Regions from separate parts of the Homo sapiens genome. Here all the other regions are linked to region 2. The links are contacts of gene promoters, found by promoter capture Hi-C in blood cells and fetal thymus (Javierre and others, 2016). All regions are on one chromosome and are shown on one strand. Each heading gives the region's core, a stretch centred on a gene start or on the middle of the fragment in contact. The rest is flanking DNA. Distances are from core to core; before and after follow the strand shown. Region 1 has its middle 3.2 kb from the start of QSER1. Region 2 holds the start of ARL14EP (ARF like GTPase 14 effector protein). Region 3 overlaps LGR4-AS1 (LGR4 antisense RNA 1). Region 4 holds the start of CCDC34 (coiled-coil domain containing 34). Region 5 overlaps EIF3M (eukaryotic translation initiation factor 3 subunit M). Region 6 overlaps BDNF (brain derived neurotrophic factor). Region 7 holds the start of LIN7C (lin-7 cell polarity scaffold C).

What was found. Contacts are between HindIII fragments. The CHiCAGO score rates a contact against its expected background, and 5 or more counts as called.
Region 1: a fragment that was not itself captured here is called in contact with the fragment with the promoter of ARL14EP in region 2 in 3 of 17 cell types (activated CD4 T cells, non-activated CD4 T cells and naive CD8 T cells); the score reaches 7.8 in activated CD4 T cells.
Region 3: a contact is called between a fragment that was not itself captured here and the fragment with the promoter of ARL14EP in region 2, in 1 of 17 cell types (total B cells). The highest score is 5.0, in total B cells.
Region 4: a fragment that was not itself captured here is called in contact with the fragment with the promoter of ARL14EP in region 2 in 1 of 17 cell types (activated CD4 T cells); the score reaches 6.3 in activated CD4 T cells.
Region 5: a fragment that was not itself captured here is called in contact with the fragment with the promoter of ARL14EP in region 2 in 3 of 17 cell types (non-activated CD4 T cells, total B cells and activated CD4 T cells); the score reaches 5.8 in non-activated CD4 T cells.
Region 6: a contact is called between a fragment that was not itself captured here and the fragment with the promoter of ARL14EP in region 2, in 1 of 17 cell types (total CD4 T cells). The highest score is 5.6, in total CD4 T cells.
Region 7: a contact is called between the fragment with the promoter of LIN7C here and the fragment with the promoter of ARL14EP in region 2, in 5 of 17 cell types (non-activated CD4 T cells, total CD4 T cells, total B cells and 2 more). The highest score is 13.5, in non-activated CD4 T cells.

Annotation. Positions count from the first base shown.
Region 1 is chr11:32,887,759-32,891,521 of GRCh38, forward strand. No RefSeq gene overlaps it. Among named protein-coding and RNA genes, the nearest start is that of QSER1, 3.2 kb to the right of the region's middle. RefSeq lists an enhancer at 3,404-3,763. The HindIII fragment of the contact is 5,575 bases long and covers 1-3,763 here.
Region 2 is chr11:30,320,836-30,324,456 of GRCh38, forward strand. It overlaps ARL14EP (ARF like GTPase 14 effector protein), which reads left to right and starts at 2,269. Exons shown (of 4, transcript NM_152316.3): 1 at 2,269-2,367. ARL14EP-DT (ARL14EP divergent transcript) reads right to left here and starts at 2,111. Exons shown (of 2, transcript NR_187437.1): 1 at 2,083-2,111. RefSeq lists silencers at 655-714, 2,369-2,498 and enhancers at 1,931-2,536, 2,049-2,298. The HindIII fragment of the contact is 9,349 bases long and covers 1-3,621 here.
Region 3 is chr11:27,478,413-27,482,158 of GRCh38, forward strand. All of the region lies in intron 3 of LGR4-AS1 (LGR4 antisense RNA 1), which reads left to right. Among named protein-coding and RNA genes, the nearest start is that of LGR4, 7.5 kb to the left of the region's middle. The HindIII fragment of the contact is 1,169 bases long and covers 667-1,835 here.
Region 4 is chr11:27,359,913-27,363,835 of GRCh38, forward strand. It overlaps CCDC34 (coiled-coil domain containing 34), which reads right to left and starts at 3,303. Exons shown (of 6, transcript NM_030771.2): 1 at 2,924-3,303. The coding sequence starts at 3,282. RefSeq lists silencers at 1,110-1,404, 3,250-3,319 and enhancers at 2,697-3,564, 3,560-3,729. The HindIII fragment of the contact is 3,738 bases long and covers 1-3,511 here.
Region 5 is chr11:32,588,004-32,591,642 of GRCh38, forward strand. EIF3M (eukaryotic translation initiation factor 3 subunit M) reads left to right here. Exons shown (of 11, transcript NM_006360.6): 3 at 591-729; 4 at 1,009-1,132; 5 at 1,544-1,638. Among named protein-coding and RNA genes, the nearest start is that of EIF3M, 6.0 kb to the left of the region's middle. The HindIII fragment of the contact is 1,687 bases long and covers 655-2,341 here.
Region 6 is chr11:27,694,246-27,698,243 of GRCh38, forward strand. All of the region lies in intron 1 of BDNF (brain derived neurotrophic factor), which reads right to left. BDNF-AS (BDNF antisense RNA) reads left to right here. Exons shown (of 7, transcript NR_033315.1): 7 at 3,233-3,926. Among named protein-coding and RNA genes, the nearest start is that of BDNF, 4.2 kb to the right of the region's middle. The HindIII fragment of the contact is 220 bases long and covers 1,447-1,666 here.
Region 7 is chr11:27,505,381-27,509,389 of GRCh38, forward strand. LIN7C (lin-7 cell polarity scaffold C) reads right to left here and starts at 1,389. Exons shown (of 5, transcript NM_018362.4): 1 at 1,336-1,389. The coding sequence starts at 1,372. It overlaps BDNF-AS (BDNF antisense RNA), which reads left to right and starts at 1,472. Exons shown (of 7, transcript NR_033315.1): 1 at 1,472-1,518. RefSeq lists enhancers at 950-2,149, 1,306-1,435, 1,506-1,795. The HindIII fragment of the contact is 9,378 bases long and covers 1-4,009 here.

The DNA.
Region 1 (3,763 bases), core at 499-2,998, 2.6 Mb after region 2:
ATAAAGGCAGTGTGGACCCAAAAAGTGACCAGCAGCAAGATTTGTTGCAAGGAACGAAAGAACACAGCTTCCACACCGTGGAAACGGATGCCAGCAGGTTGCCACTGTTGGCTCGGGCAGCCTGCTTTTATTCTCTTATCTGGCCCCACCCATATCCTGCTGATTGGTCCATTTTACAGAGAGCCGATTGGTCCACTTTACAGAGAGCTGATTGGTCCGTTTTGACAGGGTGCTGATTGGTGCATTTACAATCCCTGAGCTAGACACAAAAGTTCTCCACGTCCCCACTAGATGAGCTAGATACAGAGTGCCCATTGGTGTATTTACAATCCCTAAGCTAGACGTAAAGGTTCTCCAAGTCCCCACCAGACTCAGGAGCCCAGCTGGTTTCACCCAGTGGATCCCGCACCAGGCAGCAGGTGGAGCTGGCTGCCACTCCCACGCAGTGCTCCACACTCCTCAGCCCTTGGGCCTCCGATGGGACTGGGTGCCATGGAGCAGCGGGGCGGCGCTCATCGGGGAGGCTCCGCCCCACAGGAGCCCACAGCAGGGGGTAAGACTCAGGCATAGCAGGCTGCAGGTCCCGAGCCCTGCCCCCCGGGGGAGGCAGCTAAGGCCCGGCAAGAAATCGAGCACAGCAGCTGCTGGCCCAGGTGCTAAGCCCCTCACTGCCCAGGGCTGGCGGGGCTGGCTGGCAGCTCCGAGTGGGGGGCCCGCCGAGCCCACGCCTACCCAGAACAGGCACTGGCCCGCAAGCGCCCCGGACAGTCCCGGTTCCTGCCCCCGCCTCTCCCTCCACACCTCCCCTCAAGCTGAGGGAGCCGGCTCTGGCCTTGGCCAGCCCGGAAAGGGGCTCCCACAGTGCAGCAGTGGGCTGAAGGGCTCCTCAAGTGTGGCCAGAGTGGGCGCCAAGGCCTAGGAGGCGCCGAGAGCAAGCGAGGGCTGCCAGCACGCTGTCACCTCTCAGGACTACAGGTGCACCACCATGCCTGGCTAATTTTTATTTCCTTTCTGATGTTTTAATTTAATTTATGATGTTGACCTAAGAGATGGAAACCAGGGCTGCTCTGGCAAAGACAGGGCTTATAGTTTCCCTCAATGCCAGAAGAGAAGGGAAAAATTTAAAACCATATCTTCTTTCCCTGTTCAAATCACTTCTCACACACATATTCCTTGTATTCTCAGTGAAACCACAAACTTGACCTTCTTGGATCTTTCTTCTTGATGGTTGGTCTATTTATAACATAGGAATGTGTGGACTTACTGACTACATTTCTAGTTAGGCAACCCCAAATTCTGCATTTCCCAACAAGCTAATGAACAAGGCCACCTCAGTGAAGATGGGGTTTCCTGGGTCTCACCCCAACTGATTCCCTCCATCATCTTAAAGCAAGTCACTCAATACCAGGCCTCAGCTTCCTCAACTACAAAAGGAAGGCAATGAACTATGTACTCAATAGAACTACAATCTTTCTACCAGTTGAAATACTTATTTTCTTTTTTTTTTTTTTTTGAGAGGCAAAATCAATTACTTCCTTTTCAATTGTCCTCTGGTGCTTTATTCCAATTTCTATTATATTTAACACTATCCTATTGCATTACAATTAGTTGTGTGTCTGCCTCTTTTCCTCATAAATTACAGGTTCCATAAAGACAGGCGTTGTATTAAATTTACCCTCGTATTCACAGCATTTAGTATTATGCTTGGCACTGTATTAGGCTCTAAATACATATCTATTGAATGAATAAATATGTAAGCTACTTTAAAAATGCCCATTCAGGCTGGATGCGGTGGCTCATGCCTGTAATCCCAGCACTTTGGGAGGCTGAGGTGGGCATATCACGAGGTCAGGAGATCGAGACCATCCTGGCTAACACGACGAAACCTCGTCTCTACTAAAAATACAAAAAATTAGCTGGGCGTGGTGGCGGGCACCTGTAGTCCCAGCTACTCGGGAGGCTTAGGCAGGAGAATGGCGTAAAACCCAGGAGGCAGAGCTTGCAGTGAGCCGAAATCGCGCCACTGCACTCCAGCCTGGGCGACAGAGCAAGACGCTATCTAAGAAAAAAAAATGCCCATTCAGAAGTTCCAATTAGTCATTTACATATTCCTTTCCTTTCCCCCCCAAAAAAGAAAAACCAAAACACTCTATCTCAATTCTAAAATCGGGGCAAGATTTGAAAATTGATTAAATCAAAGGCAGTTTGGTTTTAAGATGAATTGGAGTAAATCCTACACTTAAGAAGGAATCTTCCAGCACTTTGGAAGGCTGAGGTGGGAGGATTGCTTGAGGCCAGGAGCTCAAGACCAGCCTTGGACACCATAGCGAGACCCTGTCTGAAAAAAAACAAAAAAAACTCTTTCCTTCTTCCTCACCTCCATCTCCCACTTCCTTCTGAGTTTATTGTCTAGAGTTAGTCATGCCTTAGAACATGCCCATGAACAATCTCCCCACATTTTCCACCCTAACTCCCATCCCATTAGAAAATCAATACGTATTTCACAGGTCGCGGTGGCTCACGCCTGTAATCCCAGAACTTTGGGAGGCTGAGGCAGGCGGATCATCTGAGGTCAAGAGTTCGAGACTAGCCTGGCCAAAATGGTGAAACCCGTCTCTACTAAAAATACAAAAAAATTAGCTGGGCGTGGTGGCATGCGCCTGTATTCCCAGCTACTCAGGAGGCTGAGGCAGGAGAATCGCTTGAATCCGGGAGGCGGAGGTTGCAGTGAGACGAGATCACCCCACTGCACTCAAGCCTGGGCGACAGAGCGAGACTGTCTGAAAAAACGAACAAACAAAAACACGGGACCAACAATGCTCATTCTAGAGTTTGACATTACCTAGATCAGACTTGAAGCAGCTTGGTTACGAATCATTTGAGAGATCCCGAAACGTTCACAGAGCTGGAAGTATATTTTCAGTAGGGAAGAAGACATTCTTCAGATAGTATCATCAAGTGTACAAAATTTTTAAAAGATTTATTTACATATATCAAAGCATCACATTGTACCCCATAAATGTATGCAATTATGATTTGTCAATTAAAAATAGTATTGATAAAAAATGTAATGATGTTATTTGTAGACATGTAACATTTGAAAATAAATATAATTGTACTGATTTAGAGTGAACTAAGGAAATTTCATTTAAATGGCAAAGGAACATATGGTGACAGAGTAATATTACTAAAAATACTCACTAGAATTTTCCCTTAATATCTTTCCCTGATTTATGTGACATAAACAAACTACATAATGGTGTGAGGGACTATAAAGGTTTTATTGCCACTTGTTTGGTATTGCCTGCGTAACTCACTCTGAGTGCCAGTTGTGGGTATCTCAAACTAAGTGTCATAAAACATTTATAGCATGCCACTCCATTTCCTATACTTTTCATAGAGACAAAACTTTAGCGCTCACAAAAGTACTTATAAATATAATAGCTAGTTGTGAAAACTTTTTAATTTAGATCCCACATTTCCAGTTTGCAGGAAGAAAAATAAATGTAATGAAGATTTACGTTACTTCTCTGCATGAACTCAGATTAGTTCGCAAATTCCTTTTCAAAGAAAAACCACTTTTCAAAGATATCCTCAGTAAATGCATTTTGTAATTAACATAAAATTGGCAAAGTCGCTGTGCCTACACGTTTGAATTCATGTGTAAATAACGACTACTCACTTCCTTGCTTCCCCACCCGGGGACCAGGCTCCAAGCATCACAGGTGCAGAAAGACTTGCAAAAAGGAATGAATAGGAACAA
Region 2 (3,621 bases), core at 1,019-3,518:
CTAGATACTAGTAGCACCCCTTGCTGGTACAGCCACAATGTTTCTAGACATTACCAAATCCAGTGGGAGGAGGTGAGTGGGAGGGAATCACATTTCAACCCATAGAGCCACTGCCTCACTTGATGGAGGCCCTCTTCTTAATCATCTGCGTTAGGGCAAGAGTTTCCACCTGGCCCTCTAGCCCAGGACCGCACCTCTCTTCTATTCTCTACACTCCTGATAGTTTTACAGTTTTCACAGGTTAAAATTCAGTATCTCTAATATGGCATAAAAAGGGCATTATTTGTTACCTATGCGCCTTTCCAGCTTTCCACTCTACCCATACTGAAAGGCTTTGCAGTTTCCTTAGGGATGGATGAAAGGCGTAAGAAGTGTTAACTATAGACAGTAACTAAGCTAGTAGCTTATGAGATAAATGCAAAACTCCTAGCATATTTTAAATATAGAATATGAGTAAGCATGTACTTTGTGAAACATAGGCAGGATTATGTAAAATATATAGAGTAAGTTAGTAAACTATAAGACATGCCAAAGTTAAATAGAAATATGATGGAATAGAGAGTCACTGATAGCCAAAAAGGGATGGAAAAACTAAGCAATGAGCAATCATGACATCTCTGGGCTATTAACTATGTCACCTCTAAATCAGCCACCCATTGGTCACACTTAGAATAGTCTCATATGTGCTCTGCCCAGGAAATGCAAATAAAACCTGTATCTGTTCAACAACTTACCGAGTAAGCTCTGGCTGTGACCAGGCATACTTCTCTGCGTCTATCCAATAAAGCAGGTGTGTACCATTGGCCCAAAGCACTTTCCACCTGTGGGCCTCCTTGCTGACACCTCACCTCTGGTCCTCGTAAGTATACCACCAGCGGAGAAGGCTGTTGTGGCAGATAGGATATATGAACATTACTTAACCCATGATTCAGGTGATGGCGTCCTTCCACTTGCTTGCACCTTATCCTAAGTGTGTCCACTTACCACAACTCTTTCACCTTTTCACTGGATACTTAAATTGAATAGGCTATATTATTTAATAATCTTAATTTGATCTGTGAGCCTTCTCTGTTTCATTACCTTTAGGATAGCTTGCCTAGTTTACTAGGAAGTCACAATTGCATCAAATTAAGTTCCATGCAGGCATTAATCTCCTCCCAGAACGCTCCTGCTTTAGCCCCTATCATTTTATCCTGTTTATATCCATGTGTTTCTGTTATGACACTTTTCACACCACACTGTGATTAACTGTTTATTCCTCTCTCACTAGTCTGTGAGCTCCTTGGAAGCAGAAATAAATTTTGTTTTTGTCTAATCATTGCTTAACAAAGTGCCAACCACAAAGTAAACAGTAAAAGAATTACAGAATGCAACCTCCTGCAGACACAGTTGAAGAAACTATTCATTGTTTTTTCCTTTCTGTCATTCCCTAGTTCTAGGCATCAAATCGCTTGCCTAGTCGGCGAGCAGTATGAAAGTGGTGGGAGGACCATAGACGCACTGCAGAAAACAGCTTACAGTAGATGCAGAGAATTACTAGCACGCTTGGGCCTTGGTGGGGCTTGTCTTATTTACCTGTTCCTCATTTTTCACTGGGAGTTTAAAACAAGTTTTTGTTTCCCTGCTATCCCGACCTTAAGATAATTAAAAGGCCAAGAATCTTTAAGAGACTTTCAGTTCTCCTGGATTCTAGATAATAAAACCCACTTTAAAAATTAATGAGCACCTATACTGTGACAGACAATAAGGATACAATAAAAATACCATTTCTGTTCTGAGAAAATTTACAAGCATCTTCCTGGAGCCTACATTTTACTCGAAGTAATAGCTATTTTTATAGCTTACAATAAAAGATGCATTTTGGAATATATTTCGCTTGAATTAAAGAAATAGAATGTGAGACCTTAAACAAAGGGTCCGTTCTTCAGATCCTTTTAACTCACACTCTCCTTCAGGGGTCGGGGTATTTGGGTGCAAAAGTTTACTATCACGCACAGGTGTAGAGATGTACAAATACGATCCAATTTAGTGGAAACTGTGTCTTGTAAGAGATGGCCCCCAGGGACCTCCCACATCCCTAACCTCTCGGAGGACTGCAAAAGACAGCATCTGAAGCACCTCTTGCCTCGCCTTGAATCATTTGCCACTTCACACCGCCCCGCCCCTTCCGTCCCCGGAGGCGGCCAGCCTCGTGTCCGCTCTAGGCTTCTCCCGGACGTCTCTTTGTGGTGGCGTTGAGCTCCTCTAGCCCGCGCTTGCCGTCCTCTCAGTGGTAGCGCGGGGACTGGCTGGGAAGCGGTCGGTCGAGTGTGGCCTGTGTGGACTCGCATCTTGCCCGAAGCCGGGCGGAGGAGAGCTCAAGCTAAGGTGGAAGGGGAACGGGGGAGGCCCTGGAGAGGAGTGGGAGAGTGGAGACAGGCCCCTGGGTGGCGAGGGAGCCCGGCGGCGTAACGGGGGAACCCGGGGAGAGGTGGAAGAGGAGGCCCGCACACGTGAGGGGGATTTCCAGCTGCTGGCCGGGGCCTCTCACCCCTACCCCCGCGTAGTTCATCTGCGACGCAACGCCTTGTGTCAAAGCCCAGCACAGGTTCTGCCGCCTCTGACCTCTCTGAGGGTCGTCGCCTGTCCTGTAGGCCCAGGACCTTCAAAGCTACGATTTTGACGTGAACTACTTAGGGTTATTGTGGCCTTGAACTCCGTAGACAGCCTTTATCTCTGCTATTTTTGTTTTTAATTTTTCAAATCAGAATCCTTTCAACCCTGGCCGTTTGAGGCCAAAGGCTAATGTTTATTTTTCCATCCCGGTACCATGAACTTAGTAGGTGCCCACTGGACGGATCTGGTGGTTTTAGTCATTTGTAAATAGCCGTGAACTAAGGAAGAAATGTATGTGGCCTCTTACAGGGTTGGGTTGGGAATCATTGCAGGGTTTGGGGGCACTCTGTTAGGCATGATAACAACAGCTCTAGGCTTGAGTTTCTTCATCTGTAAATGAGAATGATAGTACTTTCCTCAGGGTGGCTATGAAGGTTCCTGAAATGATGTTTGCCCTAAGCACTGTACCTGGCATGTCCTGACTACCACACTTGAACCAAATCTTTTCAATGGTGTTATGGACTATATTTTTGTTTTAAATTGCCTTTACCTTTCTTATTGTACCTAGATCTTCCTGAGGATTGAGACTCTCCTCTTTGCCTTTGGGCCAATTGTCATGTTATAGGTAATCAGTATTTGAAGATGACAGGCACAAAAAGTTCACAGTTGCAGGATGCGTGACTTTTGTAGGCGTATGTACCCATAACTAAAGCTCCTGATTTGGGGAGTAGGGGTAGATTAAATTATATTTTTATTAAATAAGAGATAATCTGGGAAGACGCTGTGTAAGTTGTAAGACCCTATGCCAAGAAAAGCCTTTAATTTTTTTCATAAAACATTTCATGAAAACTTTTTTTATGTTTTTCATAAAAGAGACATCAGTTGACCTAAAAACGAAGTAAATTTTTTGTTTTGTTAAATTTCCTCTAAATGTTACTTTTCCCACTAATAAGGAGACTGGTAACAAACTAAAAAACTATGTTAAGGGAAATTAACATATTGGAACGGGTATTTCTGCATCTCCCC
Region 3 (3,746 bases), core at 1-2,500, 2.8 Mb before region 2:
CCTCCAGAGTAGCTATGACTGTAGGTTCACACCACCATGCCAGCTAATTATTATTATTTTTTTGTTGAGACCTAGTATTGCTATGTTGCCCAGACTGGTCTCAAATTCCTGGCTTCAAGGGAGCCTCCCACCTCAGCCTCCCAAAGTGCTAGGGTTATAGGCATGAGCCATCGTGCCCAGCCTACTGATTGTTTTGGAAACAATTTACGTGATTATGTAAAATTCAGAGAGACATACCTCAAAGGGTAACCATCTTTTCTTGCAAGTTAAGATCACGCACTTTCTTTTCTTTCTTTTTTTTTGAGACGGAGTTTCGCTCTTGTTGCCCCGGCTGGAGTGCAATGGCGCGATCTCGGCTCACCACAACCTCCACCTCCTGGGTTCAAGCGATTCTCCTGCCTCAGCCTCCCAAGTAGCTGGGATTACAGGCATGCGCCACCACCCCAGCTAATTTTGTATTTTTAGTAGAGATGGGGTTTCTCCGTGTTCGTCAGGCTGGTCTTGAACTCCCAACCTCAGGTGATCCGCCCACCTCGGCCTCCCAAAGTGCTGGGATTACAGGCATGAGCCACCGCGCCCGGCCAAGATCAAGCACTTTCAAAATTCCAGTCTCCATGATGACCTCATGCTGAAGATTATGTTGCAGAATGAGCCAAGCAGAGTGCAAGCTTAAAAATGCCCTGCTTTCTGGAATGAAGGACACAGAGGGAGTCCTGGGCACTTAGAGTTTACCTCACCCTTTGTGTAAAAGGCACCCTAAATATTTTTGACCCAAATAATAACATAACCTGTGAGAAATAGTTATCGAGCTTAAATAAAAGCATAGGTGCCAAAAAGCTACCTGAAGTGAGAAGCTGGCTATACATTAAAAATATACATGTATCAGCCGGGCGCCGTGGCTCATGCCTGTAATCCCAGCACTTTGGGAGGCCGAGATGGGTGGATCACGAGGTCAGGAGTCCAAAACCAGACCAGCCTGACCAACATGGTGAAACCCTGTCTCTATTAAAAATACAAAAATTAGCCCGGTGGGGCAACGTGCACCTGTAGTCCAAGCTACGCAGAAGGCTGAGGCAAAAGAATCGCTTGAACCCAGGAGGCGGAGGTTGCAGTGAGCGGAGATCGCGCCACTGCACTCCAGCCTGGGTGACAGAGTGAAACTGCATCTCAAAAAAAAAAAAAAAAAAATATATATATATATATATATGTGTGTGTGTGTGTGTGTGTGCGCGTGTGTGCGTATATATATATACACACACACACGTACATACATACATACATACATACATGTACCTATGCTGGGTGCAGTAGCTCATGTCTGTAATCCCAACCTTGGGAGGCCCAGGCTGGCTGATCACTTGAGGTCAGAAATTCGAGTCCAGCCTGGCTAACGTGGTGAAACCCCATCTCTACTAAAAATACAAAATTGGTGGGTACCTGTAATCCCAGCTACTGGGGAGGCTGAGGCAGGAGAATCGCTTGAACCTGGGAGGCAGAGGCTGCAGTGAGCCAAGATCATGCCACTGCTCTCCAGCCTGGGCAATAGAGTAAGACTCTGTCTAAAAAAAAAAAAAGAAACTATGTGTGTATGTGTATTTATATGCATATAAATTTATATACATATACATATAAATACACACACAAAGATTTGTATACATAAATGCGTAAATATACATACATAAATATTTCAAGACATGATAGGGTTAGGGAATAAAGAAAAGAATATCAAGTCTAATCCCTACTGATCAGATATCTTACATGCACCTACTCTAGTGAATGAATCTTCAAGGTAGTGCATAGTTTCTAGGCTTTGATGCCTCCATATTTGCATGGGAAGCTTTGGGATGGAAGAGCTTTCACATTAAGCCCCAGAGGCTTGCAGTCATTCTATCATGGTCTCAAATAAGATACTTTTACACACCTTATCAACATCTCTAGTGTGGTCCTATTGGACACAGGAAACAGCATCTAATTTTTTAGGGCTAATTGAAAACAATGATTTATTTTGAACAAAAAATAACAATGTAAAATTGTCGACAAATTTTAAACATCCTTTTAAGCTACACAAGTGACCAAATTTGGGCTCTGGGCCCTCTTTACTGTACCTAGAGCTCGAGCAAGGGTGAAGGATGGCTGGGAGCAGCACATGCCACTTGTGTAGAACTGATGGGACCTCTGGGATGCGAGGGCTCGTAGTGAGGCTTCTGGCACGACTGGTTGAAGGCCATTCTTGAAGACAGCCCTTTTTCAAAACATCACCAAAAAGCATCTTACTCTTTTGAGCTGGTTGGATACTACGGGGTTAGATAGCCTTTCAATACTTCTGAAGACCCATATTGACCCAAAATTTGAAAACATTTGGATAAATATCAGAAATATGGAAATGCCTAATCTTTTCATTTTCTTTTTTCTTGTTTGTTTTTTTCGAGAGAGTTTCGCTCTTGTTGCCCAGGCTTCAGTGCCATGGCACAATCTTGGCTTACCACAACCTCCGCCTCCTGGGTTCAAGTGATTTTCCTGCCTCAGCCTCCCGAGTAGCTGGGATTACAGGCATGTGCCACCGTACCTGGCTAATTTTGTATTTTTAGTAGAGACAGGGTTTCTTCCTGTTGGTTAGTCTGGTCTCGAACTCCTGACCTCAGGTGATCTGCCCGCCTCGGCCTGCCAAAGTGCTGGGATTACAGGCGTGAGCCACCGTGCCCGGCAATGCCTAATCTTTTCTAAATCTGATTTTCTTTTCCTGATCTTTCCCTTTCAATTCTAACACAAGAGGAAAATGAGACTCAAGGGAGCAACTTCTGAATTACAGAACCACATGTGGGTTCGTTCCAAAGTCTGAGTGCATAAACTACTGGTGAGAAATAGAAGTAGGCAAAAATTAAATGATTCTTAAAGAAACTAGATGTTATAAGAAAAGAGATAGAAAAGTAAAGGTAGAAAAATCAGAATAGAAAAGCAGGAAGATTACCACCTGGTCAAGCTGATAATTTGTTAAGACCAAAATACCAACACGAAGTTCAGCCATGGAATTGGGTAGTTTTCACTTCCTCAGAATCCCAAATAAAAGTGAACATTTTAGAAAGATCTTAGCATGACACAATTATTTCAAGAAACTACATGCAAAATCTGCGCATGCCCTGATGATGTGTAATCAGAAAACCAGCACTTAGGGTGGAGTAGGGGGCTGTGGTGGTGGTGGTGGTGCTGAAATGTTCTGAAAAGCTCTTCTTTGTCTACATCAAATATTTTGAAAGAAATCTGAAATGGAAAGAGGAAATTAAATGTAGACCCAAGGAGAAATATTGGGTAGGATGTGGAGGGAAGACTCCATATTCTGTAAATTGTCTTTTTCCTAACTAGACACCAAATACTGTCTCAAAAAAAAAAAAAAAAAAAAAAAAAAGACACTCTTAAATACCTGTTTGCTAATTCCCAAGCTGTTAAGTTATTTTTGTCTAGTGACAGCTACCATGGCTATCTTCAAATAAGAAAAGCGGCAGCCAGAATGAAAAGGTTAACAATCCAAAAGTTTTTGAAAATGTCTTTTAATTTTCAAAATAAAACACCCTGAAGCAGTGCTTTTAAAAACACAGGCAAACTGCCAGTCATTTGTAATTTCCAAGATTACTTTGGAAAGGGGCAAAGCAAAGAAAGCTTCAAGGCTGGGTTAGTGGTGCTGGGTGTCAGGATGATGCTGAAGATGGTATTTTCTAGGACTGGTTGGCAAAATCTGGTAATATCTGCTA
Region 4 (3,923 bases), core at 393-2,892, 3.0 Mb before region 2:
ACAGGTCATGAGTTCCTTAAAGAAAATATATCTCAACTCATTTTTTTATTTCAAGAGCCTGGCTTAGGGTCTAGAATATAGTAGGGTCCTAGGAAACAGTTGTTGAAAGACAATCAGATCAGTGGGCTTTTCTTTTAAGAAATGACACTTTGAATATTAAATTTCCTTCCTTAATATTTATAACAAATGTGTTCAAAATGTGTGGCGCACACACTACAGCTCTACTTATAATCAAGAAAGGCTTGACAAGTGGCCATTTGTGAACAAGATATTTATTACAGCATGGTTTTCCTAATGGATAGTGGTAGAAAAACCAGGATAAAGCTGAATAAACAGCAGGCCCAGAGCACATTGTAAAATATTCCAGGAAAACGCTTCTCATTATCTTGTCTGAAGCTAACTTTGAGCTTAATCTCAGTTCTGACCAATACCCTTGAAGGTCAATGCATCCTCTAAACATGGCACTATTTATACCAAAAATACCTTGAGGTAATATCCATTATGTGCAGCTGATGCCTGAGCCTAGCTCAAAGAAGCCTTACCCGATTCGTTTTGCCAGTCAGATCAATATGGCAGGTGAGGCATGGAGAAAAGGCATAAAATCCCACACAGCTCTAGGTTGCTCTCTGCTTCACACAGAATACTCAAAACCCAGAACAATGAAAGGGCTGACTCAGGTTGCCTGCTCTCTTCATCCTGTCACCCCCAAGCTGTCCAGGGCACCAAAGAGAGGTCAGCAGTTTGACCTCAAAAGCCAGATTGTGGACTCCAGAACTCTTATCCCAAACCTGAACACCAGAACGTGGTTTACTGCACCTTAGTAGTACCTGTGGTTGGTTATTCTGAAAACATACTGATTGCTAGTGAAGTAGGTTGTAGTAAACAGGTCACTTTTTATAACACAAAGTGCTGAAGCACAGAGATTAGCAATGTCAACCTCAGCATGTGGAGACATGGTTAGATAGGATCTGAGCATGCACAGAGGAATGGATGTCATTGTATCAAAGAATGTTAGGACCAATGGAGAGAAAGAATGAGGAAATTTTCTAAAAATCTACCTTTCCTGAAAGGAAGTGCTAAGTTTCTGAAGCATTTGACAATAATCACTGCATGTATCTGTTCTTTAGGAAGTGGGAAATGGACATGCAGTCAGCAAACGTTTATTGAGCACCTAATAAGCATCTGACACTTGCCACACACAATGCTTGACAACTTCAGCATTCTCTTTTCAAACCCACGTCCCAGCTACTCCTTTGATTCATAGGGACTGAAATGTGATAAGGAAGGCAGCCTTAGCCCTGTGGTGCTACCAGCTCATTCTGGCTTTGGATAAGTGAGACGTACATACGTTCACCTCCTCCCCTGGCAGGCTCCACTTAGTCAGGGCTTTGGCTCTTGGAAACTAATGCAAGGTTTCAGTAGCTGAGCTATAGTTCCGATGGTCATTTATTCCGCAGGTCACTAACTTGTGTCCAGATTGCTTAGTCCAGTTGATTATGCTCAGAAAGTATTTCCTAAAGCCTTCAAATTTACTTTAAATACCTTTGAGACCAACTCAGTCCTGAAGAATACCTACAAAGGCCCAGATGAAAACAATTTACTGAAACCCTAACTCTACCATTAAATTTTACTATCAGGTTGATCAGAGGAGGCCTGTTTCTTGTTGCTACAACCAGCCTGGATGAGTGGCTTGCTTGGTTACTCTTTCTGATCTCCATTCCCACCAATGTACTTACTTTTACTTCTCATTCGTAACTAATTCACTCCTGTAACCATGTATACGGGTTACTTCATATGGGTTCCATATTCCATTCACTCATGCTGGATATGAACACCCTGTACTGAAGGGGGAATCTTGCTATTTACACATAAAGCATGAGTTCTCTGGCCTGTATTTCTTAGAGCTCCTGTACTGTGCCTTACACAGCTTGACAATCATAAACTTGTAAATGATTTCCGAAGAAAACGTAATGAGTCTATCCCAGAATAGACCTGCATTACTGGGCCTGTCTCAGAAATATTCCTTCAGGGATTGGCCCTTTGCTCCTACTTCTGTATACCCAATACTAGGCATGCAGTTTAGGAAAGAGAACATGATCTGTCTATCTTCGTAGTAGACCCAGGTCTGCTAATAACTAGGTGCATGCCTTTGAGTCACTTTTTGCATTCTGAGCCATGGTTTTATTATCTGTAAAATAAGTGGATTGATTTAGGCTTCAATTCATGAGAGTAGAGACCAGTATCTTGTTTACGGTCCCCAGTACGTAGACTAATATGTGGCAAACAATGTTTGCTGAGTGAGTAACAGTAGAAATAAACAAATTAAGACAGTTTTAATAACCCCATTGGTCCTAACATTGATACAATGACATCCATTCCTCTGTGCATGCTCAGATCCTCTCTAACCACGTCTCCACATGCTGAGGTTGACATTGCTAATCTCTGTGCTTCAGCACTTTATGTTATAAAAAGTGACCTGTTTACTACAACCTACTTCACTAGCAATCAGTATGTTTTCAGAATAACCAACCACAGGTACTACTAAGGTGCAGTAAACCACGTTCTGGTGTTCAGGTTTGGGATAAGAGTTCTGCAGTGCACAATCTGGCTTTTGAGGATTCATAGAACGCCTGAAATGGTAGCAGAGTTTTGTGTGTTTGAGACTATGTACATTTTTCTGGGAAGTGAGACTGCAGCAATCATAATATCTCAGGAAAAAAGGATTAAGAGCCATAGGAAATCTATGGTCATTTGCAAGAATTTGCACAGGGCTCTTTATGTGCAAAAAAAACCACGGCACCTCAGTCTGCAAGTGCCTGCTCTGCCTTTGGGGCGGAGGGCAGGAGGATGTTAGAAGGGGGTACTTAAGAGGGTCTAAGGAATCTTGAAAAGGGCTGAATCGGCCGGGCGGCCTCGGGTTTACCTGGCGCACCCCTGTAACTCCATTCCTCTCAGGCTCGCCACTTTGGCCTCTGAATCATGGGCATCTTCATCCACGTCTTCCTCATCATCCACGTCTTCCTCATCCTCCCCGTCACCGTCGTCCTCGTCAAACTGGAAGCTCTGGTGGCCAAGGGGAGACAACAGCGACCTGGTGGAATTGCTGCAGCTCAGCGGCAGCGGCGGCGACGGCGAGCGCACCACCTCCAGCCCCTGCCCACGTGCGCCCGTCATAGGGACTGAGCAGGAGTCCGAGGAGGGCCGAGACCTGGGTCTGCAGTCAGCAGAGAAACCGGCGTAGGAAGAGGGAAAAGTAGGCCCCCAGCGCCCCGCCGCCCACATCTGGCCCGCCAAGTTCAAACTGGCGGAGCCGCGGCGGGGACGCGCTTTCCCAGCGGGCCCTGCGCGCGCCAGGCCGGCCAATCCCGGCCAGCACAGACCCCGCGTTGCCATGGCGACGCGTGGAGGCCGGGAGGACTTTGTCAGGGCCTGCAGAGCTTGGCTTCCTCCGCCCCGGCCTCCCTTAGCCAGCCCTTCCTCCTCAGTGGCAGGAAGGTGCCTGCTGTTTGCAAGCTTGTTTAGTACGGTGTCTCCCCACGCCACTGGCGGGGTCCTGGCTCCCTACCGACAACTTTGAGGGCCTGTCCCTTGTTTGCCGTGGTGTTGCAGTTCATTTTGTACATGAAATATGTTACCTGCCACTGAATCAGGGAAAGACGCAGAAACCAAAACCACCCCCTATATAATTACGAGGTCAGAATTGTGAGCATCGGTCGTGATTTCTTTCAGCACAAGTCGATATATTTTGAGGAGAGGGGAGGGAACTTGATCCAAGTTTACAGGTGTATCCCAGAACGCACTTTTAGGACAGTCATTGCGTGTTTTGGTAGCACTTCGTTTGCCTGGCATCTTAAGGGACCTAATTTGTCTACACATGTGAATTTTTGACCTCTTTGAAGCCTCTAGTGTATTGTAGGGTCTGC
Region 5 (3,639 bases), core at 248-2,747, 2.3 Mb after region 2:
ATCATACCAGTAACTTCCAAATGATTGAATATCATGACAGTGAAAATTGAAACTTTATATACATGTAAATCAGTCTCTGTTTTACTAGTTAGAAACCACATCATAGGCCAGGCATAGTGGCTCACGCCTGTAATCCCAGCACTTTGGGAGGCCGAGGCAGGTGGATCACATGGTCAAGAGTTCAAGACCAGCCTGGCCAATATGGTGAAACCCCGTCTCTACTAAAAATACAAAAATTAGCCGGGCGTGGTGGCGGGTGCCTGTAGTCCCAGCTACTTGGGAGGCTGAGACGGGAGAATCGCTTGAACCTGGGAGGCGGAGGTTGCAGTGAGCCGAGATCGCACCACTGCACCCCAGCCTGGGCAAGAGAGCAAGACTTCATCTGAAAAAAAAAAAAAAAAAAAAAAAGAAACCACATCTTAGGTATCAATTTCCTTCCTCTTTAATAAAATATACAAGTTGCTTTCTGAATGCGAAAGTGTCTTACATTTGATGGTCTTCATTGTATTAAAACACTGGAAATGCATATTTAACTAGACGCATTGAGTATTGTAGTATCACTGTTGATTGTGTTATCCATACTTGTGTAGATGTTGAAAGTGTGATGAACAGTGTGGTATCCCTACTCTTGATCCTGGAACCAGACAAGCAAGAAGCTTTGATTGAAAGCCTATGTGAAAAGCTGGTCAAATTTCGCGAAGGTGAACGCCCGTCTCTGAGACTGCAGTTGTAAGTTAAGATCTGAAAGAAACTCAGTTTTTCTAGGTGCTTTTTTCATGTTACTAACTTTTAATGGTGCAGAGCAGGAATTCTGGAACTTGACTCTCAGCTGTGGCTCATATTAGCTGTGACCTTGGGCAAGTGGCTTGACCTTTCTGTGCCCTAGTTTCCTCCTTTGTAATATGAAGTTGTTAACGGTACCTGCCACAGGTTTGTGGTGAGAGCTAACCTCAACTTAAAACTGGTTGCTGATTTCAAACATTGTTTATTTGTTTGTTAACCAACCAGGTTAAGCAACCTTTTCCACGGGATGGATAAGAATACTCCTGTAAGATACACAGTGTATTGCAGCCTTATTAAAGTGGCAGCATCTTGTGGGGCCATCCAGTACATCCCAACTGAGCTGGATCAAGTGAGTTACTGTGTGGAATAGTTGTTCTGCTTATAAGAAATGTACTTTTTTTTTTTTTGAGACGGAGTTTCACTGTTGTTGCCCAGGCTGGAGTGCAATGGCGCAATCTCAGCTCACCGCAACCTCCGCCTCCAGGGTTCAAGCAGTTCTCCTTCCTCTGCCTCCTGAGCAGCTGGGATTACAGGCATGCGCCACCACGCCCGGCTAATGTTGTATTTTTAGTAGAGACGGGGTTTCTCTATGTTGGTCAGGCTGGTCTCGAACTCCCGACTTCAGTTGATCCTCCTGCCTTGGCCTCCCAAAGTGCTGGGGATTATAGGCGTGAGCCACCACGCCCAGCCAGAAATGTACTTTTATATGTTATACTTTATATGTGTTACTCAGTTTTCTCCTTTTGTCAATCTCTTGTAGGTTAGAAAATGGATTTCTGACTGGAATCTCACCACTGAAAAAAAGCACACCCTTTTAAGACTACTTTATGAGGCACTTGTGGATTGTAAGAAGAGGTATTCAAAAGTAATGAACTAACATATCACTTAACAGACAGTATAAGTAGGTGGGGATGTTTTTTAAAGAGAAGTAGGGCCAGTAATTTTGCTTTACTCTGTTCTCCACAGAGTTGCTATAAATCTATTTCTATAAATTTGACCTAAAGTTAAAGATAACTATAAAGATTAAAAGTAGTTTTCCCTCATCTTTGAACTTTTTAAAAAGTGAAATTTGGCTTTTTTTCTAAAAAAAGAAAGGTGGGGCCTTTCCAACATGGGCTTCAACCTACTGCTGTAGCATGAGCTTGGTGAATGTGGTGAAGCATCTCATCATTTTTGGATGGTGCAGTGGCAGACTACAAAAAACTTTGTGTTAATGTAAATATTCCATCTCTCCACCCATGTCCTTCCTCTTGCTTATCACACTCTAGACCCAGCGAGCCTATGTCAGGTATAAAAGCACCATGCTCTTTGCCAGTCTGGACCAGGAGCTGGCACTGGTTCTTCTATAGCCCGTGTACTAAGAATGGTTTTAACATTTTTAAATGATTGAGAAAGAAAATCAAAGAAAGGGTAATATTTCATGATATGTGGACATTATATGAAATTCAGATTTCAGGGTCCATAACATTGGTATTACATCCATGCCTATTCATTTACATATTGTCTGTGCCTGCTTTTGCCAAGAGTTTAGTTACAACAGATACCATATAGCTTGCAAAGCTTAAAATATTTACTCTCTGGCCCTTTATAGAACGTTTGCCTACCCCTTGTCTAAGTAGTCTTACTATAGTCAGCTTCATGTCTCTGCCAGAAACACCCCTCTCATATTTCGGTTAGTGCCTCCCTTTTACAGCACCCTCTACTTGTATCCTAGCATTTAACACCCTTAGTTGAAAGTAAGGTTGTAGGCTAAGTGAAGGCAAGGAACCTCATCTGTAAACCATTGCATTCCCAAGAAGATAGCACTTATTGGGCACTGAGTGGATAAATGCTACCCACAGTAGGGAACTGGAAGGGGATACTTGTTTAAACACGACATTTCTGACATTCTGCCAATCTAAATGTTGAGAGTTGGTTTTCTTCTTTAGAACACATAAAATACATATTTTAATCAGTAAAATTCTGAGATTTTACCTAGCAGTTAAGTAAAAATGCTTCAAGTTTATGGGTGCCCCCTTCATGACTTTATTTATATTGGTGGTTGATGCACATGGTGTTTGTTGTGCTTTTTTTTTTTTATTTGAGATGGAGTCTTGCTCTGTCGCCCAGGCTGGAGTGCAGTGGCGCAATCTCAGCTCACTGCGAGCTCCACCTCCCGGGTTCATGCCATTCTCCTGCCTCAGCCTCCTGAGCAGCTGGGACCACAGTTGCCGCCGCCACGCCCGGCTAATTTTTTGTATTTTTAGTAGAGACAGAATTTCACCGTGTTAGTCAGGATGGTCTTGATCTCCTGACCCTGTGATCCTCCCGCCTCCGCCTCCCAAAGTGCTGGGATTACAGGCGTGAGCCACCGCACCAGGCCTGTTGTGCATTTTAAAGGGTGTTACTGGTAACTAAGCCCTTACATGTCAGACACCATGCTGTGTGCTTCAAGTGGATTAAAAAGATTTCTTTAGCTGAGAAGGTTGAAGTATACTGTAGTTGCTAAAACTGGAAAATGACTTGCACCTGTGCTTACAGTGTGGCACAAGATAACTAATGAGTAAGATGTGGTTTTTTAAAAGTTTTTCTTTGAATTTTTATAGTTAAGTCATTATACTTTTTAATTTTAATTTTTATTGCAAAGTTAAAAATTCCTTAGTTTTTTATTCCTGGTACCACTACACTACCATAATTTACAGGGTAACATGCCTGATGTAATGAAAAGAAAAAGGCAAAGGTACAACAGATAAAAGACCTCAGGAATGTACATCTAATTGACACTACACTGCATTAATCAATAGTGCACTTTTTGCAACCTGTAGCTATGACAGTCCTGAACAAGAAGGCTTTCCTGTTTAAGCTGCAGTAACTTTT
Region 6 (3,998 bases), core at 307-2,806, 2.6 Mb before region 2:
ATAAGTGAATCAAATTACACATAAGAAATTATAGAACTAAGCCAACTAAATGACTTTTATAATAGGTACTGGGGAAAAATATTATTAAACCTTTTCCTCCAATTTCTGCCTTTCTTCCAGCAAGACAAACCATTTTCATGAAGTTTCTGTCTACATCACTAGTGATAATCTGAAGCAGCCATTAATCAATCTATTAGTGCATTCAGCAACATTTATCAAAGTGCCTCCCCAGAACTGTTTTGGATGCTGTTGTGGGCGCATGCAAAAATGAACTAAATATAGATTTTTGTCATCCAAGAATTTTAAGTCAATTTGTAATTATTGGTTCCTGGTTCCATAACTTTTTTTTTTTTTTTTTTTGGTGCTGGCTCAGATGTATACCTTCATCTATTCTAAGGTTAAGGCAATCCTTATAATTTTCTTCCTTTTTCTTGTTTGTTTGTTTTTTGTGTGTGTGTTTAAAATCTTGCTTATATTTGACTTTATTTTATTCTCACATCTTCTGAGTACATTAAAGTTAAAGGTAGATCATAAATCGAAAACATTCTTAAAGGTCTCTCTACTCAAATTATTTGGTGTTATTGTATCTCAGAAAGTATAATGAATTGCCTGTAGCAAATAAATAAAATCAGAACCTTTATACTCAATGGTTCGGTTTGGTACATATCCATGAAAATAATAAATGTTAAAAAGGATGCTAGCCGTTGATTCCTGGCATGCTATTCTACATTTGGCTACATTACAACGTTAAAAGGATTTAGTGCATATATCAAATTGTGGATCTGCTTGTTTTAAAATTTCATCTGTAATTCCACATGCAACCCCCACCCCCATACACACTCACAAGATCTGAATATGGTAACAAGGAAATCCTAGTAACTGTAGCGTTGGAAAAATGGTTCATATGGAAATAAGCCATTTGGCTAGTAAAGCTGGTGATTTTGTTCTCTAGGTGGCACTATTACTTCAATTTTTGGTGAGTTGCTTAAATTACTTGGAACTGCCCGTTTATTTTCTTTGAATTCCCATTTTATAAATTTTAATTTTATACAAGCTAGTTGTAATTAAACGACAGGTTGCCTTCTAGGTTTTATTTCAGTAAGTCAATTTGAAGTTCAGTGATTTTTTATCATATAATTTTATGTTTCCTTACTATACTGTCTTAGTTTTAAGAAATCCTCCCTTGCCTGACCTCCTCTCTCCAAAAATGCAGAGGCATGTCAAAAACACAGAGGGTCGTCATAAAGTTTCCGTCAGACCAAAGGAACCAAGATGAAAGCATGTTTAAGAGCTACTAGGTTCTGGGAGATTTCAAAATCAGGACATTACTACCATGACAACCAATGAAAAGTTCTTTCAAGTGAACCTTTGGGGAAAACTATATAACGTTCCTTACTCTCTAGGCTCTCTGGAAATAAACTTTTACTTTATTATGGCTGTCACTAAAGCTTGTAAATTTACTTTGCTTCCTTCCAATCGTTCTCCTGTCCCACACTCAGCCCCCTAACTCACTTAATGCAACCCATCCTCAAACATCAATCTATAAATGAGACATCAGGGCAATGAGCCACTTCTTAGCATCTAGTATATTTGATAAGATTTGTCTCATCAAGAGGATAAGTGCCCTAGAGCTTCTACTTGAACTTAAATACTTAATTTAAATGAAAGCTTCCACACTTATCTGACCAGATACTCAAATTTTTCTACAGAAAAGAGAATACCTTCCTGTTCCACTTAAAGAACACACACATTTACCACTCCCCCTCCTCTCCCCTGCAAAAGGTTTTCAATGTCAGTACATTAGTGAGCTCCATTTTGCATCTGCCATCAATAATGATTCCATATAGTCAATAATTGGGTTCATGACCTTTCTAAATCTTTACAGTGTAAATATTCTGGAAATCCAGTGAGGCACTTAAGTATAAAATTATTTAGGATTAAATAATTCTATGCCTTAAGTAGAAGTTTAAGAGGACGTTTAGGACACACATGACTAAGCCTACAAATACCAAAGCCACTCTATGTTTCCTAGGTTTAAATACCACATGCAAATAACATACGGATTTCATTTGCCAGCATCATTTATTGCCTAACATTACTCCATACTAAACAGAGTAAATGGATGCAGAGTGTAACCAGTAAGTTTGCTCATTCACTTTTGAAGCTCATCTGTGCATGTTATTCATCCTAATAAAGAAAATTTATCACAACACAACTTGATGCGATTCTTGTTCAAATGATTTCCTCTTCCATTGAACAACAGCCAGCACTTAAAACCTAGAATTCCACAGAATTCTCTCCTCGATTCCTCTTTAAAATGCAATTCACAGTTTGAGATCACAGAGCCTGCCAGTGGCTGAATGGCTGCACTAGATGGCTGAGAGTCCTTCAATTAAGCAACAATTTTGCAATTAGTGGAAACTGAGTGCTCTATAACAATTGTTTGAAAACAAGTTGAGACAAGTTAGCAATTACCCTATAAAAGGGACATATTCACTTTTGTTGGATAGGCGAGACCCCTCACACAAATTGAACTCTTCCACACAGGGAGATGCAAGTTGAAAATTAATGTTTTAATCACTAAAATCAAATCCATATTATGGGCACCTGAAATGGGAGTGCCTTTCTTCTCAAAAGATATTCAGAGTTTAGCTATCATCCACTCTCTATGCTGTCTGTTTTTATTCAGGAAGTCTGAAATTGTTCTTCTGTACTCCGGGATTAATTTCCTACATCTCAAAATGTTAATAAACTACTTGAACATGACCTTTCCATTCTGTAAATTTCCTTAAGAGTAAGTCTACGATTGAGACCCAAAGCTGCTGGCTGTGTTATATTTCACAGTTCACAGTTCTCTCTCTCTCTCTCTCCCCCTCTACACACACGCGCACGTGCACGCACACACACACACACACACACAGAGAGAGAGAGAGAGAGAGAGAGAGAGAGAGCACCCCAGGTTTTAGAAGATGAATGTAAAAAGAATGTAAACAAGTTCTCTGCTATACTATCAGGTGGGCGTGCCCAGCTCACTGTGCGTGCTGAACTACAAACCAGTGCTATTCATATAAGAAATGATATCAATCATCTACATTTTGACTATTGAAAAGCTGGGACTCTTAAAGATTCCAGGAAAAAGGGAATAGCTTACATTTTCATGGCGCCCCTTTTAAACAGGAAACCCACGGACTTTGAGCCAGGATTTTAGAAATTTGCATTTCTTTTTTTACAGGATTTTCCCTCCTGGTGAGTCAAAATGAACAAGAAATACCCCAGGACCTCCCTTCCCTCCTTGGCCATTAATGAGATGAAGGCAATTAACTCACATAGTATAAATGAATCATTTGAGGTGATGACTGCATTTTAGGCAAATGATGACTTTCTTGGTTCCATTGGTTTGCAAGTAAAAGTTACACACATTGAAAAGACACTGAAACAGATTTCCTAAATGCTTCATTTTCTGGATGCACCAATGTTGACCTACTATACATGTTAAATGGTTTTAAAATATCACCTTAAAATAAAGGAAACTTCCAGCTACTAACTCAGCTCTGAATGGGCTATGAAAGGCTCCAAAGGTATGTGAAAAATTACTGTTATTTTGCTTTAAAAAATGTGATGTCTAAGAGTGTCTGCAATGTTCTAATGCTTCAAAACATGTACGTAAGCCTTGTTTATCTGGAAATCATTTCTTTCTGCTTATATCATTTATAAATAGAAAATGTTCTGTAATAACTTAAAATAGTTCCACATACATAATGCTTTTAGTGTCATAATACTTACTACTGGTCTATATTTACCAACATTTATCACATTTTACAAAATGAAGTAGAAGAAAAAAAAGACAACGACTTTATGGCCCTGGAATTCCAGTAATGGTGACCAACATGTTTTAAATTCCAGTAAAGGTTATGGTTACATTTCAACAAGTGTCTCTTTCCTTTTTTTTACCTCTCCTGCTAACCCAGAGGTAAATTTCCCAAAAAAAAAAAAAAAAA
Region 7 (4,009 bases), core at 139-2,638, 2.8 Mb before region 2:
TAGCTTTCAAAGAAAAAACTTACTCCTGTTAACACCAAACAGATTTGCTCCCATCTATAAAACACAGTGCCACTGTGCTCAAGAGGAAGATGTCAGAGACTTAGGCCTAACTCGGCAAGTCTTCCCAGAGTAGCTAGTCCTCTAAAATGATGCTTTAATAGGCTTAACGGAAACAATCTCATTTACAGTGAGGCTTCCAAATGGTGAACACGGTAAAGAGCAAATCAGCAACATTAAGTGCACATTTGTTTGTGGGAAGGCATTAGGAAAGAGGTTTTTCTAAGTACAGTAATTCTAAAAATGTGTTTTCTTAGGGAACAATAGTAATATTTAGACTAATTGCAAATGTTAATATGTGCAATATAATTTCAGTCTCCATCCTACATATACATTTTTTTTTACCACCAGTACTCAAAATGTTTATTTGTACTTCTCAATTCCTATCAATGATTTCTAATGCTGGTGTATGAAAAGCATGCTTGAAATTGTTTGAAATAAAGGACTTAGGGACAGAGTGGAATGCTGGAAATCTGTAAAAGGACTGGAAACGCTGGAATGCTGGAAATCATGGTAGGCGCATAGCCAGTTATTTTCGTAGGCTTCTCTATCTCTAATTACTCAGCAGAGGTGGTTTTATTTTCCTTGACAGTCTGCTCTAGGAAGCAATCAGCCAACCAGTTTGCAATTGTAGGGTTTGTAAGAAATGAAAAACACTGCACCTGCAAGTGTTTTAGCATCTACCACTATTCGGCTTACTTACGTAACCTCCTTCCCAAGACCAAGTCAGTAGGATTGTTTTTAAAGCAACCTCTCCATTTCTAGGAGGGGCACAAAAGCTAGCAAATACCCCAACCCGAATACAAGCGAGGTTGTGGAGAAAGTAATGAAGGAGTTTGTGTGCAAACAGCGGGGAAAGGAGGTTCTGTTGAATTGTACCGTGTGTCCGTTCTCGTGCTGTACAGGCAATGAGTGTAGTCTGTGCGAACCGGGTGTGTGACGTTTGCTTTTCGGGTGTACGGGTCTCCGAATGCTGCTTCTGCTGTGCTCACCAAGGGAGCGCGTGTGCGGCGTGTGTCTGCGAAGCGGGCAGGTTGTGTTTAGTTGTGCTGTGCCTTGGAACAGTCCGTGTGAACAGAGGAGGGCTTACGGTTAACAGACAAAATACCGTAAGCGCCCTTCCTAGAGCCAGGCACAGAGACAACGGCGGCCTCTGGCGCCGGCACAAGGGACAGCGTGGCCCGGATCTCAGAGCCTGGGTCACTCCTCCTCCCCTCCAGCGACACAGCACTCCCCCAACCCTTCCGCCCACCTCCGCCGAGCCTCGGCTGCACTCACCTCTCTCCAGCCGCACGGGTTCCCCTAGCGCCGCCATCTTCTCCCTTAACCTACAGACCCACAGGAAATGACGACAGAAGGGCTGAGGTGGGGGGGCGGGGCCTAGGGGAAGCCGGAAAAGTGAGTACCGGCTAGTATCGCGAGATCAGGAAGGTGGCCGAGTGTGTCGCCGCGGCCATCAGGGTAAGGGTACCTGGACTTGCGGCTTTTTAGGTCGGCCTGGCTCCGCTCCTTCCGCGGTGACGAGGTCCCCCGGCCTCCTAGGGTTGGGAAGAGCTGCTTTCCTGACTCTCGTTCCCTGCCTCAGGCTTCCCTTATCCCAATCGCTTCGAACCCTTGGCTCAGCGTAGAGGAGTCAAGCCTGGATTCTAGTCCCACCTTGCCCATTAGCAGCTCTGTGACCTGGGACTGTTCACTTACCCTCTCTCAGCCTCAGTTTCCGCATCTGTACAACGAGAGGTCCTATCTCTTAGGTCCTTACAATTTTTAAACTCTGGGATTCGGTGGCAATTAAATGTGTAATGACATGTTGTCAGTTCTCAATTTGTGACAGCATTGCTTTAAATTTAAAAATCCACGGCTTGAATCTTCCCTCCAAATCTGTTAAGGGGTGGAAAGTACAAAGAGCATGAAACATATCTGGGTGAGGGAGAGAACAAGGTGCTTTGGTGCACCACAAAGTAACAATTTTATAAGCAGCTGATTCTTATAAAATCTTAAGTAAATGAAATATTGTGAAGCAAATAATATTCTTAATGCATTACAGATTTTTGAGCCACTTCTGAAATTTTCGCGAACCAAGAAGAATTTTAGTACTTGGATTTGACTAACATTTATCCAAGCCCTTAGTCTGTACTGATACTGTGGTAGGTGTGTTTACATCCAGCATTTCAACACTTCATGATGGGACTGTTTTAATAACCTGTTTGCCCCTGGTCCACCCTTTCCATTCACCTTTAGTATTTTCTTCTCCAAATCCATCATGGATGCCACCACTATGCTCCTTTTTCTCCCCTTGAATTCTGATTTCATCATCACAAGTTCTGTTCAGAAACTTTCAATGGTTTCTCTCCTGTTTCCTATTTCTAAAGCCTTGCATACTCTGACCCTAACTCATCCAACTAACTTCATTTCTCATTACCACTAAGTGCAACCACCACTTCAGTCCAGATAGTATAGTTTCAACCATATTTATTCCTGATTCCAAGTCTTTTTGTTTGTTTTAGAGACAGAGTTTCTCTCTGTTGTCCAGACTGGAGTGCAGTGGTGCAATCACAGCTCAAGAGAGCCTCCTGTCTCAGTCTTGCCAGTAGCGAGGACTACAGGCAAGCACCACCATGCCTGGCAAATTTTTAAATTTTTAGTAGAGATGGGGGTCTTGCTATGTTGCCCAGGCTGGTCTCAAACTCCTGAGCTCAAGCAGTCCTCCTGCTTTGGCCTCCCGAAGTGCTGGGATTACAGGCGTGGGCCACTGTGCCAGGCTCCAAATCTTCATTTGTGTTGTTCTTGTGTGGAATGCCCTTCTTCATCCCTTCCTAGTCTCCAAACTTTGTACACACTCAGTTGAACCCATTTCGTGGGTCCCTGCTGAAGGCATGCCACTTCTACCAAGCCTTTTCTCCATATTATTCCCCTTTTTTGTCCTCTGATGGCCTAAATACGTTGCAGTAACACTCAGGTGCTTATCTCTTACTCGTTGTCATTTTTTTTTGCTGCAAATGTGTTCAAGAAATGTTTATTAAACACCTAATATATACCAGGTGCCTTGATAGGAATACCAGGTAGAGCAAGACAAATGCAAACATTGCCCTTATTTCTTCAAATATTTTTTCTTTCCATTCTCTTGCTCCTCTCCTTTGGTGTGACTATTGGAGTCATGTGCATGTACATAATATACATGTATATTGAACTAACTGGCATTGTCTCACAGCTCAGTGACGCTCTGTTCATTTTTTTTTCAAGATTTTCTTTATGTTTCCTTTTGGATAATTGCTATGTTTTCATATTCATTAATCTTTTTTCAATATCTAATATTGAAATCCTGTCCAGTTCATTCTTCATATAAAACATTGTAGTTGTTGCCTCTACCAGTTTGATTTGGGTGTGGGTGTGTGTCTTACATCTTTTATGTCTTAACATGCTCAACTTTTCTGCAGCTTCTTAAACACATAGACTACAATTATAATGACAGTTTTAATATCCTTGTCTACTAATTCTATGATCTATGCTATTTCTGGCATAGTTTCTATTGATTGATTTTTCTCTTCATTACAGTTCATAATTTCCTGCTTCTTGCATGCCTGGAAATTTTTTTTTTTTTAACAAGATGCTAGACTTTGTAAAATTTACTTACTTGAAAAACAATTTTGTTCTTTTGGGTTTTGATTTTTTTTAGGTGGAACCAATTCAGTCATTTATGTAGGGTTAATTGTATCCCACTACTAAGACAGTACCCTTCAAAGTTCCTTACCCCATACCCAAAGTGAATTATGTGGTTTTTCTACTTTGGTAGGAACGGGAACTATTCTTAGGAACTGAGTTTGTGGACTTTTTTTTTGCTCTTTTCCTTTCCCTGTCTGGTAATTTATTTCTTCTTCTTTCTTCCTTCTCCTTCTTCTTCTTCTTTCTTCTTCTTCTTCAGATGGAGTCTTGCTCTGTCACCCAGGCTGGAATG